Regions from separate parts of the Homo sapiens genome. Here regions 2, 3 and 4 are each linked to region 1. The links are contacts of gene promoters, found by promoter capture Hi-C in blood cells and fetal thymus (Javierre and others, 2016). All regions are on one chromosome and are shown on one strand. The core of a region is centred on a gene start or on the middle of the fragment in contact, and the rest is flanking DNA. Distances in the headings are between cores, read along the strand shown.

What was found. Contacts are between HindIII fragments. The CHiCAGO score rates a contact against its expected background, and 5 or more counts as called.
Region 2: a contact is called between a fragment that was not itself captured here and the fragment with the promoter of ARHGAP36 in region 1, in 1 of 17 cell types (M2 macrophages). The highest score is 5.5, in M2 macrophages.
Region 3: a contact is called between a fragment that was not itself captured here and the fragment with the promoter of ARHGAP36 in region 1, in 2 of 17 cell types (M2 macrophages and endothelial precursors). The highest score is 6.8, in M2 macrophages.
Region 4: a fragment that was not itself captured here is called in contact with the fragment with the promoter of ARHGAP36 in region 1 in 4 of 17 cell types (M1 macrophages, M0 macrophages, endothelial precursors and 1 more); the score reaches 5.7 in M1 macrophages.

Annotation. Positions count from the first base shown.
Region 1 is chrX:131,056,901-131,059,794 of GRCh38, reverse strand. ARHGAP36 (Rho GTPase activating protein 36) reads right to left here and starts at 1,449. Exons shown (of 12, transcript NM_144967.4): 1 at 1,351-1,449. LINC01201 (long intergenic non-protein coding RNA 1201) reads left to right here and starts at 1,649. Exons shown (of 3, transcript NR_126350.1): 1 at 1,649-1,748. RefSeq lists enhancers at 791-1,443, 1,444-2,097. The HindIII fragment of the contact is 6,523 bases long and covers 1-2,894 here.
Region 2 is chrX:131,669,822-131,672,715 of GRCh38, reverse strand. No RefSeq gene overlaps it. Among named protein-coding and RNA genes, the nearest start is that of OR13H1, 130 kb to the right of the region's middle. The HindIII fragment of the contact is 2,349 bases long and covers 317-2,665 here.
Region 3 is chrX:131,617,633-131,620,526 of GRCh38, reverse strand. It overlaps the pseudogene OR2AF1P. Among named protein-coding and RNA genes, the nearest start is that of OR13H1, 75 kb to the right of the region's middle. The HindIII fragment of the contact is 1,392 bases long and covers 818-2,209 here.
Region 4 is chrX:131,591,540-131,594,433 of GRCh38, reverse strand. All of the region lies in intron 1 of LOC124905218 (a long non-coding RNA gene), which reads right to left. Among named protein-coding and RNA genes, the nearest start is that of OR13H1, 49 kb to the right of the region's middle. The HindIII fragment of the contact is 245 bases long and covers 1,335-1,579 here.

The DNA.
Region 1 (2,894 bases), core at 200-2,699:
GCAGTAAGGCCTTAAAAGACATCTTATAAAACTCCCTTATATTTTTGATTCACCAGGATCATATAAACCTTAAAAATATGCAAAAGAAAAAATTAAACTCTGTGTGTATGCAGATCTTTTTCCTTCTCAGAGATCTTGTTGCTGGCCTGAGGCTGTACTTGAACTGCCTAAGCAAGCTGTAGTCTTTCAGCAGGAGGTCAAACTCCTGGGATGGTTCTCAGCAGGGTGTTGGGGCTGGCAAGAACTAAAAACAGGTCTCTGCTGAATTAAGTTGCTGAGGCCCCTCCTTTCCCTGCTTCCCCTCCCCCGCCTGTGAAGGGACAGAGGAAAGAGGAGACAACCCCAGGTTTGGTCTATGGCTGGTGCCCAATGACGCACTCTCACCAATATAGATTTTGGAGGTGGAGACTATGAAAAAACAGGTGGCTGTGGGGGCAGGTGGCAGCCTGAAGGGGGTGGGGCTTATTATCAAGGGGGAGTGAAGGACAGTGTGGGTGGGGGTCCTGGGGTATGTCAAAAAGAAAATATCAGTCTCCTGAAACTTTAAGGATGAAAATATAATCAGTTGTCAAAATGTACTTTGTAGAAGCAGTTCCCGAAAAGGGGTGAAATGTGACCCACATATGCCGGTGCTGTGATCTTTGCACACTTGTGTCCTCAATTCCACAGAAATAGGGAAACCAAGCATTGATCTCAAGTACCCAAGGAAAGAACCCGACTAAAGACCGCAGGGGTCCACTACTGGGCAGTCTGGGGCAGTGGGCAGCTGGCAGAGCCTAAGCTGACCCAGGTATGCTGCCAACCTGTTGGGTAACCTTGGGCAGGCTTTTCCCATCTTCAGTGTCATCATCTCTTAAATGAAGGGGTTAAATTCGACGACTCTAGGGGGTCCATTGCTGATATTCTGTGTTTGAGATTGAGACAAGGGGACGAACTTCAAGGCAAAATGAATACCCGCCTCCTTCAGGGTCCCTGGGGCCTGGCTTGCCCTGTCAGGGACATTCATCCTTGGGCCTTGAGGGTCCTTGAGTTGCGGGACGCCGCTCCTGCGCGTCTGGCCCCAAGGCTCTGGCTGTCCCTGCCGGCGGCTGAGCCAGCGACTCCGCCCACGCGCTCGTCCCGCGTACCGCCGAGCCATTAGCGCGATTGCTCGCGGTTCCCGGCAAAGCTGGTGATTTATGCGGGGCCTCGACGGGGCAGTCCCTTGAGCCAGGAACAATTAGCTAAAAGCCAGCAGGAAGGGAGGCAAGGGGGCGACCAGCCAAGCCCCAGGGCGCCCAGAGGGGGCTGCAGCCGCCGGCCGCCCCCGGCCGAGCACCCCAGCCCCCCGACTCGGTGGGCCCCACTCACCACGGCGGGGGCGGGGCTCAAAGGCCGAGGCGAAAAGGCAGTCCAGTATCCACGCCATGACCCGCGCTGAGTGCCCGGCAGCTCGCAGTTAACCTTTGCGTCGTCCCCCGCACCGGCGGCCCTAAGTAGCCCCCGGTGACCACGCCCTGAGCCGCACCCTGCACCCAGCTAAGAGTGTTTCGGTCACCGGACACCTCGAGCATGTCACGAAGGGGGCAGGGCCTCCGGGGAACCCCCCCTCCTGCCAGAAGAGAGGCCGCTGGTCCCGCAGCCCCTTGCCCCACGCGAAGGGAGGCAGAGACACACAGCTCCTGTCCTGGGAAGCTGATTCTGAGGGCGGGACCCTGCCCCTACCCCAGGGAGCCCAGAGTCTGAGGGGAGACGCCATCTCAGCCCTGGTGAGCCCCAAATCTGAGAGGGAGGGAAGGTCCTTGTCCCCCAGCCCCACCCCAGGAGCCCTTGATCGGGCACATAAAAGCAGGCCTGCCCCCAAAGGCTGGAATTTGAAGGCGAGGTAGCGCACCTGTCCCAGGGAGCCTCAGATCTGAGAGCGAGACAGTATCCCAGGCTCTAGAAAACTCCACGATTTAGCGGAGCGTTATCTCAGCCCTCAAGAGGCCTAGTCTAAGCGGGAAGCAGTGTGTTCCCCAGGATCCCTGAATCTAAAGGGGAGATGCTGTCTCAGCCCTTGGGGACCCTCCCACCCCCACCCTTAACCCCTCTCTTAGGGCAGGCATCACCTCAGCCCCGAGTAGCTCCAAGTCTGATTTAAATCACTGGTCCGTTCTAGAGGACCAAGAATGTGAGCAGGAAAAACGATTTTGCCGCCTCCCCCAAGAAGTCCCATATCTGAGAGTAATCTTACTTCCCTTCTCCTGCGAATTCCGCAGCGAAGAGGGAGATGCTCTCCTGCCTGGGAACCTTTGTACTGAGGGGGTTGATCATCAACTGAGATAAAAGAACCCAGTGTCAAGTATGTATAAACGTGGGGTGCCCCCCAGTTGCTGCCGACTTACAGATTCCACTGCCAATGCTTTTGCTCAGGGCACTGATATGGGAGGGGGACCCACATTTATTTTTAGAAAGAATTTGATATTTGATATTTCAATGGAGGGTGGTACTGTGTTGGATTTTCTTACACTTCTTTTATGGCTTTGTATTTTTACGTTTTAAATACATATGGAAGCACGTGCCATAATGGGTTCAGTGTTTGGGGCCTCTGGTGGTGGTAAAAAGAGCCCTGCCCCCCAAATCCTGGGGTAGAAGCAGCCACCAGAGATGGACCACATTAGGCAGGAAGGGCTTCTAAACGAAATTTCCTTTTTACTTCAAGCCCAGGGGCCCAAATTAATTTCTCTCCCAATTCGCCAGTGGTAGCTCCACAGACGTGACTCTGTGCCTTGTTTTTCTCCACTGGGAGAATGGGGCTCTGTTGATCAAAATGCTAGTGAGGAGGTAGAAAGAAATATGGAAAATCTCCTTCCAACAGTTCGATTGCAGGCCAGAGGAGTGGAAGCCTCAATCACTGGGTCCACTGGGGAGAG
Region 2 (2,894 bases), core at 242-2,741, 610 kb before region 1:
GGTATAGACGGAGGCATATAACATCCTGCAAGTAGATCACTGTAGCTGGAGATAACCACATAAGGAGGAAAACCCCAAGAGGAATGGTTGAAGAGATATAGAAGCTGCATCGCAGAGGCCATTGTGCATCATATTTCAGTGCTTAAACTTTGCTGGGTAGGTGATGGAGGTAGATATAAAAGTAGAAAGGAGAGGGATGCATCTAGGAACAATCTTCAGGCTTGTGACCTATGGAAATGTAATATGGTGTTGATGATCAAGAGACATAGTGTGACTTTGCCTGACTTTTTGAGAAAACAGAGATTGAAGCAAAGCTTTGTGCTAAGGGTTTATTGAGGGCTGCAATTACAGAGCAGTTTGGACAGAAAATGGCAATGTGGCAAGGGATGAGATAGAAAATATAAAGTAGCACATTACAGAGATTTCTACAGCTTCATGAGAAAACATAGTTGGCTGCTCCGTCGCCTTGGATATGTCTAGATAAGCACTGTGAAACCACCATACCTTGGTTCAGCTGATTAACTCTCTTGAACTTCCAGATTGTTTCACCTCACCATTTCCAGTAATCCACGGAAAGTCACATCCTGCAGTGTATGGAATGGCACTTCATTTGAGGCTGGAAGAAGTGGAAAAGCCAGACCTTGTGCTGAAGCTGCATAAAGAAGGATCTGCTGGAGGGAGTTTGGATCTCAGCCCAGGAGAGGCCATGAGCGTTGTTGATATTTGGAGACAAAGTGATAGTGGTGACAGCCAGACATCTCTTTTGAGCAAGCAGCCAAGGGTCTGGCAGGCCAAGGACTCCTCTTGTGTAAACAGAATAGGGGTATAAATTCAGGCTGACGCAGTCTACCCCTTGATACAATAATTTGGAGCCATCATTTTATGAGAACAACATGTCCTCATTTCTTTTCTTGGATGAAGAAGCAATCCTTCAAATTGGTGGCCAGTTACACTCTCCTAAAAAGGCTTATTGAATGAGGATTATTATGCCAACATAAAGTTCCTGTTACTATACTGTGTCCCAGAACCATATTGTTTACATATTTATATTTATTTTTTATTTTTATTTTTTAAAATTTACTTTAAGTTCTGGGATACATGTGCAGAATGTGCAGGTTTGTTACATAGGTATACATGTGCCATGGTGGTTTGCTGCACCCATCAACCTGTCATCTAGGTTTTAAGCCCCACATGCATTAGGTATTTGTCCTAATGCTCTCCCTCCTCTTGCCCCCCACCCCGCTACAGGCCCCGGTGTGTGATGTTCCCCTTCCTGTGTCCATGTGTTCTCATTGCAGCACCATAGTTTATATTACTCATCTCCCTCTACAACCACCATTTTTTTTTTTTTTGACGGAGTTTTGCTTTTGTTGCCCAGGCTGGAATGCAATGGCACGATCTCGGCTCACCGCAACCTCCGCCTCCCAGGTTCAAGCAATTCTCCTGCCTCAGTCTCGGTCATGTGCCACCATGCCTGGCTAATTTTTGTATTTTCAGTAGAGACAGGGTTTCTCCATGTTGGCCAGGCTGGTCTTGAACTCTTGACCTCAGGTGATCCGCCCGCCTCAGCCTCCCAAAGTGCTGGGATTACAGGCATGAGCCACCACGCCCGGCTACAACTACCATTTTTATGCTTTCCTCACAATTAGCTAACACCTTGGCTAATTTAGGTTACTTGTCTAGTGGGATCATCCCAGAAGGGTTTAAACATTCAGTTGCCTATCTCTTTTTGGGCCATGGTTGGTGAAATTGGATGTTCACAGTTATCACCGAAAATAGACGCACTAAGAAATGCTTCAGTGAATCCCCTGAGTTTCAAACATAATCCTCCCTATCTCTGTATGTAGCAGCAACTTTAACTGCTGACAGAAATGAGGGTGAGTACCTCTGTAAATATAGGAATTTTTCTTTGCTTGTTATTCCACAGGCATCAGGAGCTCAAAGTTGCAAGATAGTGATAGAGGCTTCTGGTTCATTGAAGCATTTACTGTGTCATCAGGTGGAAGTGCACCTCCCACTCTTCCTTTGTTTGTTTGTTTGAGACGGAGTCTTGTTCTTTTGCCCAGGCTGGAGTGCAGTGGTACGATCTCGGCTCATTGCAATCTCCACCTCCTGAGTTCAAGCGATTCTTCTGCTTCAGCCGCCCGAGTAGCTGGGATTACAGGTGGACACCACCACACCCGGCTAATTTTTGTATTTTTAGTAGAGACAGGGTTTCGCCATGTTGGCCAGGCTTGTCTTGAACTCCTGATCTCAGGTGATCTGCCCGCCTCAGCCTCCCAAAGTGCTGGGATTACAGGCATGAGCCACTGCGCCCGTCCTGGACCTCTCACTCTTAAAACCAGTATCTCAAATCCACCATAGCCTATGTTTGCAGGAATGAGGAAGCCCAAATTCCACAAGTGGGTCACTGCAGTGACAATCATTGGGGTTATACGGACCTCAATTTTTTAGCTATGCGGGAAAACACCATATATATGCTACAGTTTTGGTAATTATACTACATCACAAGATATTATGACTGAGCTGGTACCTTAACTAAGACTTCAACACATCAGTCCACCATTCTTTTTTTTTTTTTTTAAATGTACCCTTCCCCTAATGGCCTTTTTTTATTTGTTTATTTTAATGTATTTAATCTGTGCCAAGAGAAAGCTATAAAGCTTTTCTATTCTCTGAAATTTTTTTTTTCCATTTCTAGGGAGCCTAGAATAGGTATTGTTCCTTAAAATTTTTTTTAAATTATACTTTAAGTTTTAGGGTACATGTGCACATTGTGCAGGTTAGTTACATATGTATACATGTGCCATGCTGGTGTGCTGCACCCACTAACTCGTCATCTAGCATTAGGTATATCTCCCAATGCTATCCCTCCCCCCTCCCCCCACCCCACA
Region 3 (2,894 bases), core at 264-2,763, 560 kb before region 1:
AAATTATAAATATAATTTAAAAGCACTTATTAAAAGATAAGTGCTTTTACATACAAAAGACACTTCTTGCCATGGAATGTTATCACCTAAATGGGAGAATTGAGGGGCCATTTGTCCATTAGGTTCAAATTGGTGTACACACCTATAAAATGTGTTATGAGAGGCAAATGCTGTATTGTGGTTGTATAACCACTGTCTTGTATATGAATTTTTCCCACTTTGTGTGGCAAGTACAAAGATGTTTGGTTACAAAAATCTTATGGCTTATACCCAAGAGAAAGGGCTCTCCCTGATAGGCTACTATGGCTGTTGCGCCTGCCTCCACATACCTACTACCATTATTCTCTCTGTGAACTACTTTGGGCACATTCATGGCTTTAGGTCTTAATGTGGGGCTTGACAAAGTGTTAATATTTATGGTAAATTTTGTGATAATATTTATGGTAAATTGTTAATGAATGCCTAGTGGGGACCATGGAAAGAATGCTCACTAAAATTTTGTTGTTTGCTTTAAAGAAATATAAATTGAAATAATAGGCCAAGTTTTCACTGTTTTTCCTGCACTTTGGAGACGTTTAAAGAGAACTGTTAGGATTTTTCATTTCCTTTGGCTAACTTTCTAAGTGCACCTTTTATATCCTTATTTCTCTGAATGTAAATTGGGGGATTTAACATGGGAGTAACTGCTCCATAAAGTTTTGAGACAACTTTATCCTCTTCCTGGGTTCCCTTTGACTGAGGTTTCAAGTACATGCAGATGGCTGCCCCATAAAATATGGTGACTCCAGTCAGATGAGATCCACAGGTGGAGAAAGCTTCACGCCTAGCCTCCACAGCACAACAAAAATGCAAAATTAGGAGATGAGGATGAATGTGAAGGGCAGGGGCAGTGTGAACACACTGATAACCAGACCCTGAATCAGGCTGACAAGGGTGTCTGAGCAGACGAGCTTCAGCAGGGCCTGGATCTCAAGGTAAAATGGTTGATGACATTGTGTCCATAATAACTAGCAGGAATTGCAATGATTAGTGTGACTGCTACTAAGAAGGCATGGGTCCAGATTCCCAAGGCCAACTGTATACAGACCCGATTGCTCATAATAATAGTGTAATGGAGGAGATAAGAGATTTCAACAAACCTGTTGTAAGCCATGCCAGCAAGGAGGAGACACTGTCATCCCCAGAAAGAGGTGTGTGATCATCTGAACAGAACAGCTGTTATAGGAGATGGTGGGGAAGTCCTTGATGCATTGAGCCAAGACTTATAGCTCCCAGCTGATGGAGTAACACATTTCAAGGGAGGATAAGGTACTGAGGAAAAAAAAATCCCATAGGAGTATGAAGTCGAGAATCTCATCTCACTACAGCAACGATAAGGATGTTCTCAAACGCTGTGACTAGTAGAAAAACAGTAGTTCCAAGAAGAAGGCAGTCTGGATTTCAGGGTGTTGGGCAAATCCAACAAGGATGAGTTCAGTCATCTCAGAGGCATTGTCTCTTTTTAGACCACCCATTTACTTGTCTCAAGTGTTGGGAAAAGAGACAAAACAATGTCATCTACATGAAGAAAGAAGAGGAAGAGCATCTCAGTAGCCTGTTATAGTTCATGTTCTGGAGCTCTAATTAATTGCTGTATGCCATTTATTTTACTGGGTTAGGTTCAACTGTTCAAGTATCCAGTGGTGGAAATATATGTTCTCTTTGCTTTTCTGTCTTATAGAAACTTATATGACCTAGGACAGACTGATTTAGTTGAATGGACTGTTAAAACCCAAATAGAGGTACTTACATTGACATTGAGTCAAATAGAATTATTACTCTCATAAAGGGGTTTAGCTACATGATTGATTTTACCCTTGACCAAAAAAAGGGCAAATAAGCTACATCTGCCCAATAAAAATGTTTTCCAGCTTTATTTAAGTTGATTCACCTCTTTAATAATAATTTTTAAATTTAAACTCAAGGATACACTTTTGAATGCTTGAAATACTTCTTTACTTTTCAACCCTCTTTTCCCCTTATATGTCATATTAGAACCACCTATATATGGTGAATTAGAAAGTGTATATGTAGCTAAACCATCTAGTCAATTCAATGGAAAAACACCAGTAGCCAAATTGACATGCAATAAACCAAACAATTGGTGGATTTGCTGAAATCTTACTCTTTGCTCAATTGTTCTGACATCTATCTTCGGCTGACAGAAGCTTACTATGTGCAGATCCTATCATCTCCATATAGTTTCGAACAAGAGCTTAAAGGGTGATGGGGATATCTTAATAGATAAAAGGATTTCATGCGGAAAACAGTTACTAGCAATTGTGAAAAGGGACAAGGCAAATTTTGAATGCATGTTTCCAGGATTTTTCAATAAGAAAAGACAGAGCCTTTTCAGTTTTACATGGTTTTAGTAGGGAGTGAAAGATATGACCAATTGAAGTGTCTGTTGGCTTTAGAATTTTCGTATTTAGACACAGCGTCAATCTCACCATATTGTATAGTTATATTAGTGCCGTATATAATTGTGTAATTCTTTATAACTTTATAACTAAAAGGCAAACTGTTGACATACAGAAAGAAAGCAAGGGTGCCAGCTGGACCTAAGCTTAACTTTTGGTTTAGCCACTAAAACCTGCACAGTCTTGAGAAAGTCAGTTTTCTCATATGTGAAATGGGAATACCACCCAGCCTCTTGCAGGATTGTTCCAAGAATTAGATAAGATAATTTCTACAAATAAATAAATAAGTAAATGTGCCCGGCACATTTATAGCCACCCAAGATACCTTAACTCCTGCTTTCATGCCCCATGTAGACCTTCCCTACAGTTTGGACTTCATTTTGTAAACATGTGCCAAAATGTCATTCCATCCTACCTTTCCTTGTGAGGTTATCA
Region 4 (2,894 bases), core at 208-2,707, 530 kb before region 1:
TCTATATATCTATATCTAAATTATGTATATTTTTAGAAGGCCCATTTATTCAACCACTTGATGAAACTGAGGCTATTAATAAGAAAATTAATATTTTCTTTATAGTTGAGGGTCATCTCTGAGACAATGGAAAGGTGAGGATAAGGAATGGGCAAAGAGAAAAGAGAGCATGAATATCAAGTACAAGGTACAAAAGAGAGTAACATTTCTGGTGTGGTATAGGGAGCGTAGAATTAGGACTGAGAAAAAGTTAAAGGGAGGCAGAGTTCAGCTGAGTAGGAGACAAGTTTTCTGTCTAGATAGCTAGATTTATCTGACAATTACGGGATAGGCAGTTCCATGAATTAGTGAGCTAACTCCTTCAGTGATACAACATTTAATTTCAGTCTGATCAGCAGTAAAATAGAGGGGTCTCCTGTATTGGACCACAGGCTGAACTAGGCCCACTCTGTTCAGCTGTAAGAGTTATCATGCCATCATAGGGAAAAAGAGGCAAAGAGACACAGGGGCATAGAGAAGGCAGGACAGAGAAGAGGCAGATCTAGAAGAAGAGAACCAGGATAATATGGAGGAAGCAGAGTAAGCAAAGAGATGGAAAGAGAGAGAAAAAACCATGCTTATCCAACGGAAGGTAGGACATTGCTTAAGGAATTTTCTCTCTTTACCAAATTTCTAAAAATGATTACCCTCATTAATTAACTCCATTTACACACTCCCTGTTAACTTCTCAATCCCTTGCTTGTTTCTGTCACACAACTGAACTTATTAGAAAGTAACCCAATGTACTACTAATGACCAAATCCAATGTTCTTTTTCAGTCTTTGATTCATTTCATCTAACACTACTTACTACCTTCACTTCTTGAATATTTTTCTTCTTTTGTCTTCTAAGATTCATTTTCGCTTTATGTACTTCTCACCTCTGCTTATTCTTTTACTGTAAATTGTATACTTTACTGTAAAATCACCAAGGTTCAGTGACTTTTGCTACTGCACTCTCTCTTCAGTATGGCTCTTCTACGCCATCCCCATGAAAGAGTCACTTGTCAGTTCCCTCTTTCTTCTAACTTCTAAATGTATGTATTTCTAAGTTTTCAGTGGCATTCAAGATAAGCTAGCTTACTCTATAGCAACAAACAGCCCCTAAACTTTGAGGGGCTTGAAACAACAAAGGTTTAATTCTTGCTCATGCTACATAGTAATGACATTTGTCTCCGCTCATTGAAGTGACCCAAGGACCCAGACTGAATAGGGGATTCTTCTTGACACCTGCTTTAATGATTGCTGAAGCAGGATAAAAGAAGCACAGTGAATTCTGTATGGCTTCTTCAAGCTTTTGCCTGGATGTGAATAAGTCACTTTTACTGACATTTAGTTGGCAAAAGCAATCACATGGCAATGTTGTTATGTACCTGGAAGGAGGTGAGAACTGGAGTACCTGTAACAGGCTCTAATGACCACCATGTATTTCTTACTAATTTCTGTAACTTTACTCTTTCCATAGATGGTCATATCTGACCTCTCATATATAATTAAACTTATATCTGAGTCTAATTCTTATACTCATGTCTCCCAAAGCTTATAACTAGAGGTCAGACATCTTCTTTAGCTCATGAATCACGTGTTTATTTGGCTTCCCAACCCCAGATTGTTGGAAACTAAATTAAAATAAACTTGTCACCATTCCATTTAAAACTATCATTGCTACTTCCCTATTCCTGCTAATGGCACCTCAATTTTCCCAATAAACCAGGTTGGAAAACATTGTCATCATCCCTCCTTTCTACAATTTCCCATATTAGTCAGTAAGGTTCAGTGATTTTTGCCACTGCACTGTCTCTTCGCTATGGCTCCTCTGCTCCATTCCCATTGTAGATTTCCTTGTCAAAGTCTTCTGTGTGTCTTTTGCAAGGATTTTCAAAATAGGCTCCAAACTAGTTTTTTACCCCTTTCATCTGCCCTGGACATTTTTGCCAGAGTAATCTTATGTTTTCATTATACTACTCCCCTATCCAAAACCTCTGTTTCATTGTCAACTGCCTGTAAAAACAAGTCATGACTTCTTAGCCTGACATTTGGTACTCTTCATGTCCTGTCTTCAACCTAATTTCCTATGGGTTGTCTTCACTGATCCTTGGTTTTCCCTTCATTTTTTTTACTCCCTATGATGCATATGCCCAATGTCCCATGCATATTTAGGGTGACCAATCATCCCTGTTTGCACAGGACTAAGAAGTTTTCCAGGATACAGCACTTTCAGTGCTAAAACCTGGGAAATCCCTGGCAAGCTAGGATGCATTGTTCTCCCTACATATTCCATTCCCACCATTCCTCAAACATGCCACGTTTTATGACTTTTCTCAAATCCCTCTGACAAGAATGACTACCTACCTTTATTCTATTAAAATTCTAGCCATTCTTTGTCTTTGCTTAATCTCCTCAAGATGCCCTTCTCCCGAGTCAGAATTAATATCTTTCACCAATGTTCTTTCACAGTATTTTGTTTTTCTTTTCCCCTCTGTTAGAGCACATGCCACTTTCATCATTAAATTGTAGTTAATTCCATATAAAAAGTACATATTTATCTGCCTCTCTAGACTGTTAGTTCTTTGAGGGCAGGAACCCTGTATCATTTATCTCCTTATATGGCACAATGTTCCGTTCATAGGAGGCACTAATAAATACTTGTTTGATGGAAATTATGACGCAAAGAGAAGGATCAGGGCAATAAAGGAAAGAAACATGAGCACAGAGCGGGTACAGAGGGAGGCAGAGAGCGGAGATAAAAAGATCACATGCGTGTCCAGTTCTTTTTTCCTGCAGTGATTCCAGATCTTTTCTTTTCCCATTGGTACCTCACCCAGACATTTTTCCTAATAACTATTCAAAATAACC